Regions from separate parts of the Homo sapiens genome. Here region 1 is linked to region 2. The links are contacts of gene promoters, found by promoter capture Hi-C in blood cells and fetal thymus (Javierre and others, 2016). All regions are on one chromosome and are shown on one strand. The core of a region is centred on a gene start or on the middle of the fragment in contact, and the rest is flanking DNA. Distances in the headings are between cores, read along the strand shown.

Region 1 (3,340 bases), core at 1-2,500, 270 kb before region 2:
CACAGTACACACAAGCCCCAGCCCTTCCCACTCCCCCGAGGAAAGTACGACCCGCAGCTCTTCTCTACGTTCTGAAATTGCTAATCCTTGGTGGCTACATTTCACTGACGGGACAGTAAGCTGAACCTGGCCCACGAGGGTTGGGGGCGTACTTGCTGGAACTGTGGCATAGAACCTTCCAGGGCAGGGTCTGTTGGGTAGTGCCAGGGACCAGAAACAAGTGGTTACACACAGAACTGGGGAGGGCGATGTTCAAGCATCGTCTTGTCTTGGTTCTCATGCGTTAAGCTAGGCGCTCCAGCCCCCGGCCACATTCCCACCGGGCACTGGGCAGCTGCATCTGTCCCCACAGAGCCTGCTGTGGAGTGAGGCGACCCTGCTGGAGAGCCAGTTCGGACCACCCCGCCAATTCTGCACCACCCACAGCCTTGGTGTCCAGATCCGATCATCTGAAAGCTTGACCCCACCCTCGCCACCAGCCGGGCAGCTTGCTTCTCCAGCATTTGACAGGGCAGCTGAGGCTCTCTCCACAGGGTGCTGGCCTGACATTTTCCTCTTGGAAGAAGTTATTTTCGGAAGTAGAAGTCAATGGGCTTTTTAAAACACTGTTCTCCCTGGAGCTGAGCTCCCCACCCTCTAGAATGCAAATGTCCTGGGCTGTGGGACTGTTTCAATAACAGGTTCCATCACTGATACCCAGGCTCTTTCGGCACAATCTAATTTCAAGAGAGAAAAATAATATGAACACTTCCCTGGAAACCATAAAGCACTAAATCAGTTATTCAAACTCCCTGCATAATATAATAGAAAAACAAAAGAACAAAAAACAAAACTGTAGTCAAAATCAGGTTTATAAAGCCTCAGCCTTAAGAAAGGGAGGACACAGAATCTGGGTGGCTGGAGGGTTGGCAGCTTGTGTGGCTCTCACCATTTGTACAACTAAGAGTTAAGGAACTTGACCTCCCCAGGATATCCTTCTGCTGCAAAACACAACAGTGCAAAAGCCTATTTATTTCTCTGTTCTAAATGGAACAGGCTGACTTTATAGATTCCACCACACGACCCCCTTGCAGTAGTCTGAGTAGTGGCCCACCAACATATGTTACCTGGAACCTAAGAACGTGACCTTAGTCTTTGCAGATGTAATTAAAGTAAGGAAATCAAAATGAGATCATCCTAGATTGGGGTGGGCCCTAAATCCAATGATGGTGTCTTTATAACAGACAGTAAAGGAGAAGACACACACACACACACAGAGGGGAAGCCCACATGGAGACAGAGCAGAGGCTGGAGTGCTGCTGCCATGAGCCAGGAACACTAGGAGCCATCCGCAGCTGGAAGGAGACAAGGCAGCAGAATTCTCTCCTAGATCCTCTGGGGGAAGTGTGGCCCTGCAGACACCTAGACTTTGGACTTTTGGGCTCCAAAACTATGAGAGAATAAATTCCTGGTTTTTTAAGCCCTCAGGTTTGTTGAGGCAGCCCTAGGAAATTAACACCTCCCTCCACCCGATGCCAGCTACCTGTCTGCACTTAGAAAACGCAGGACCCAAGAGTCAGAAAAGAGACAGCTGTAGGGAGAAAAGGAGGCGGGGGAACCTTTAACACAATTCCATCCTGCCTCCTCCCCTGTTCCAGAAAACCCCAGTGAAAACACTGCCTTGAGATGTCTCAGGGCTCACCACTGGTTCCAGGACCATGAGTAGTTCATCATCAAATAGGACCGCCTGGAAGATGTCACTCAAAGCTGTCTGTTGTGGCTCAGGCAGCTCCGCAAATGGATGGAAATTCCTCTCCAGGAGCAGGGTCGCTGTGAAAACAAAGCACACCCAAGTCTCATGACTGCGATGCACATCTCACGACGTCGGACAGCAACTCCTGCTTTTTATACCTAATCGTCATCAGTTCTTTCATGGATATTCCCAGCTGCATAGTCAGTCATGGAACTCAGAAATAAACATCAAGTTACAAGCCACCCTGCATATTTTTCAATAACCAAAGGGAGGGAGGAGAGAGAGAGAAAGAGGGAAGCCAAGTTTTGTATTTCAAGCTTCACTCTTCTCTGATGACTCACTAAACATTAAGTCTAATCAATTATTTTCTGGAAAAGTTATTTAAATTCTTCTTTAGCATGACTTCTCTAGAAGTAAATTATCAAAGCTGAATTACTAAACAAGTCAGTGCTTTTACAATGCTTTAGAGCCATACAAATTCCAAAATACATTATTTTTCACGTCCTTTCTTGTAGTACATTGCAGATTTTCTATCCTTTAATATTTAATGCCCATTTTTAAAGGGGCTGGCACCCTATTTTCATGGCAAGCACAGCTATTCTTTCTCTATCCTTTGCTTCTTCATGAGTCCTCAAGCTGAGCACTGAGTCCCCGAAGCTATTGCCTCTGCAGGATGCTTAGGGGCCTCTCCCCTTAGAATCTCTTTTCCTTTCTTTGTTTTTTGGTTTTTTTGTTTGTTTGTTTGTTTTTAAGATACTCAGAAGCTTCTTGTAAATTAAGTCTAGTGGAGATTTTATTTTTAAAGATTTGATAAAGGTTTCGTATGCAGGGATGCACACTAATACATCAATGTACCACCCATGAGGATGGACGATTCCAACTAGCAGTTGTATAAAGCCCCACGCAGAGGAACACAGAACATCAGTAACCAACATATTTCAAAACTCTGCTATACACACAACTGTCTTTACCAGTCCCAGCCTGAAGAGAGAAGCTGTCCTGGTCGGTCCAGTCGCACACCCAGCTCCCACTGCACCCCTGCTGACCAGAATGGCCAACTCGAAGGGTGGGCCTGTGGGCAGGACAGAAGGAAGCTGCAGCACGGGACTGCCTTCTGCTACCCAGTGGCTGCAGGGCCATTTTGCTGTGGTTCTAACCCACAATGACAAAATCCTTCAAGTGGCAGCTGAAAATTGCACCCACTTATCCATCTCAAGGAAGCCAAGATAGGAAAGCCTTATATTAAAATTGGGCCTTTGTTGTCATTTCTTCAAATACGGACATTTTTGCTACAAAAGCATCCTGGTTTGGGACTCATCGAAGCTCCACAGATGTAGTCACCAGGGCTTCTGTGCTTACCCTCCAAGCCAGCGCGCACACGGAGCGGTTCCTAGCTCTTTGTGCTAAGCTCTCACCTATTTGTTTCTCCTTTTCCTTGCCCATCTCCTCCTATATGCTGCGCCCCCACATCCCCGACAAAAGAAACCAGCTTTCTAAAGCACAATACGCTGTGAGGAGCAAAAGGAATTGCTGCAGGCACATCCTGGGCATGGCCCCTCTTCCTCTTTGGCACCATGCAGTCCATGCCATGTGGATAAAGAGCCTCCA
Region 2 (3,211 bases), core at 443-2,942:
AAGTGCTATGAGCAACAGCAAACGGGTGATGTGGCTTGGCTGGAGGGGATGGTCATTTAGCTTGGATGCATAAGAACCTAGGCCTGCTTGACTGATCTCCTTTAGCCAAGTATAGTCCTTTAGCCAAGGACCTCACCTTGTATGATACTTGCGGGGTACAGTGCAGATGATGAGAAGCCAGGCCTTCGCTTTCACCCATCTGTGGAAGTATCTCTTTTGCAGCTGTAGTTTAAAATATTTCTAAATGCCCTCATCCCAATACTCAAACTCTGAGGGTCAGAGCAACACCTAGGGGGTCTCAAGCACCTCTGCGCAGTACGCAGACACATGGAAACCGACAACTTCACAGTCCCCTCAGCTCCAAGAGTCCCGACTGAGGAGACTGGTGGCTTGTGAGGCGGAGAAGGACAAGCACAAGTGTGCAGAAGGCAGCAAGCAAGTTGCGTTGCCGAAGGAAGGGCGGCGCGCCCCTGCTTAAGAAGTATCTGGACGACCTGCGACAGTGCCCATCAGCGACTCCAGAGGCCACAAACGCTCCCCGGGAAGCTGGGCAGCGCTAAGAGGCTGCCTGGGAGTTTCTGGCTTATGATGACAGTACTTAAAGAATTTACCTGACCACGGAATAAACAGAGACAGAGGTAGGAAAACCCAACTGTAGACAACGTTCAGACAGAGTGCATAAGTCCCTAAGACCCTGAACTAAGACGCTGCAGGGCCTCCAGGAAAGGACCAATGTGAGAGACACTGAGACGAGAGTTAGGGTGAGCCTGAAGGTGATCTGAACAGTAGTAATTGGAAACTAACAAAAAAAAAAAATTCCAGAAGGGGCCAGAAAGCTGATGAATATGTAAATTCAGACAAGAAAGGAATGTGCCCTGGGCCTCCAGCCCAGCACCGGGGAGCTGAGCAAGCCGGGGTTGGGAAGGCGGGCGAGCGGAGCGCCTGCCCCGCGAGCGTTGTCTCAGTCTCTCCGGCGCGCCCCATCCCGCGGATGTGGTAAAGCTTCGCGCTCGCCCCAATTTACCAGGCTTCCTGAGCCTCTAGCCCCGGCGTAGCGCCTCCCCGCTGCCCAGGACAGCTCCGCGCGCCGCGTCCTCCCGCACCTGCGCCGCGGCCCCTGCGCTCGGCTCCTCCTGGCGGTCAATCCTCTGAGCCGTCCCTCGAGGGAAGGTGTCCTGGGGTGGGTGAGACCCGGGTCCTCCTTCCCCGGGAGCTGCAGCCGGCACCCAAGCTCCCAGGCTTGGGTCTGCCCCAGGGCCGGAGCCTCCCCGGGCGACTCGGACAGACCCCGGTCCGGCAGAGAACCGCGGCGCCCCGCAAACAGCAGCCCTTCCGAGCCCGCGCCGCCGCCAGGCCCCCCGACACCCAGGCCCCATTTAGGCGGGCGCCCCGCCACTCACCTGAGCGCTGTGCAGCCGGAGACGCTCCCTAGTTCCCCGGGGCCGGGCTCCGGGGTTAGCGCACAGAACCGGGAGAAGGCAACCCCGGCTTCTCCGGTACCCCCGCAACGTGCAGCTGACAGCTCCCGCACCGGCCGCAGGAGTCGGGGGCGGGGATGGCCACTTGCAGACAGACTGCGGGGCCGGAGCCGCGCTGCGCACCGGCCGCGAAGCGCTCAAGTCCCCTCTCCCGGGCCGGCTGGCGGGCGCCACCAGCACGCGGCCAGTTCTGAGTACTTTGCCCAGAACTTCTCGGCGCGCGCCGCCCGGCGATTAGCCCGAGGAGCCGCGCAAGGGCGGGAGCGCAGGGGAGGGGCCTGAGAGGCCCAGGGGCGGGGCCCCGAGGGGGCGGGAGGGCGGCAGAGTGATGCACAATCTCACCAATCAGAAGTCGCCTTTCGGGAAGGAGGTGGGGCGATGTCCTCGGAAGAAGCCAGCGGATTCCATGACGCGGCGGGGGAACTAGGGACCCCGGATTCCGGATGGGTTGGGAGGGCGGAGGGAGGCGAGTCCTGCGGCGAGGCACTGGGTGGGGCTCCCGGTGGCCCAGCTCGGTGCCTGCGCGCGGTAGGCGTTCGGTAAATGTTCCTCTAGTGGCTTTTCCGGGCCAGGGAAGGAGGAAAAAGTGAGGGCAGCGCGGGAGGGGCAGGTTTACGGAGAAGGCTCCAGGGGACCCTTGCGGTCGCACAGGCTAGGAGAACTCGACCTCCCGAGAAAGTCAGACTGTGGCAGAGGAGTCGAGAACAGAGGAAATACATAGGGAGGCAGCACTCTAGGCACGAGATGACAAAGGACAGCATCAGTGTGAGACCCGGGGCTCGGAGACCGTGACCCTACCTCCAGAGGCAGTCGTGCAGATTCGTGCCGGGGTGATTTTGTTCTGTGCAGTTTATGTGCAAGGGGGTAGGAGGTGGGGAGAGCACCGTCGTTACTATTAAATCTCCCTGAAAGACGGAAAAGTCCACCCGACTTGACTTCCCACTAGCCCAATGGCCTTCTTTGATCCTAGGACGAATGCAAGCAGCTGATGGTTTGGGGTCAGTTTGCAGACTGCAAATGTGTCGAGTGCCGCAGGTGGCGGGTGGGAAGGGCATGAGCATTTAGTGAGCACCTAGTATATGCCAGGAGCAGTTGCGAGCTTGCAACTGTGAGAAAGGCGCACCAGGCTCCAGTACTCACGGGGCTTGCATTTTTTGTGGAAAGACAGACAATAAAGAAGAGAAAATACATATCTATGCAAAAAATAAAAGGCTGACAGACTGTTAGTACTGAGAGGAGGGCCAAGTCCACTTTCGAAAGTGGTTTAGCGCGTGATGGGGCGCTCACCCTGAGGGCCTCTAGGCGAGGGTGGCTTTTACCCAGATTCCTGAGCCTGGGAAAGGAGCTGCCACACCCAGTCTCGCACAGAGCGTTCCAGGCGAAGGGAATAGCAAATACAGGGTATTTAGCCTCCCTGAAGACCCAACTAACCGACCTCACCGAGCTGGGCACCGCGCGTGGCTCGCTGGGCTCAGCGCCTGGGACGGAGTAAGGGCTCCACAGTGTTAAATCCCCCTGCCAACCACCACCTGCAGCGCTCGACGCATTTTCAGTCTCCAAACTGACCCCAATTCAAGGTTTCTGAGACTCTTTCCGGAGCTATTCTGTTCACATTTCATTCACCACGCTCAGATCTTCGCTTTCTGGAACCATCCCCCTCGCGAAATGTCTGGGACTGTCTGTTTCGGATCTGGCAGGCGGCGGGCGAGGGCGGGAGGCGCCAGAGATGCTGC

Evidence for each region. The method cuts DNA at HindIII sites, captures the fragments that hold promoters and counts their contacts. A CHiCAGO score of 5 or more calls a contact.
Region 1: a contact is called between a fragment that was not itself captured here and the fragment with the promoter of OSBPL3 in region 2, in 1 of 17 cell types (M0 macrophages). The highest score is 5.4, in M0 macrophages.

Annotation. Positions count from the first base shown.
Region 1 is chr7:24,706,446-24,709,785 of GRCh38, forward strand. GSDME (gasdermin E) reads right to left here. Exons shown (of 10, transcript NM_001127453.2): 7 at 1,682-1,809. Among named protein-coding and RNA genes, the nearest start is that of GSDME, 49 kb to the right of the region's middle. The HindIII fragment of the contact is 1,593 bases long and covers 455-2,047 here.
Region 2 is chr7:24,978,486-24,981,696 of GRCh38, forward strand. It overlaps OSBPL3 (oxysterol binding protein like 3), which reads right to left and starts at 1,693. Exons shown (of 23, transcript NM_015550.4): 1 at 1,401-1,693. RefSeq lists silencers at 1,083-1,292, 1,343-1,852 and an enhancer at 2,993-3,162. The HindIII fragment of the contact is 2,254 bases long and covers 1,001-3,211 here.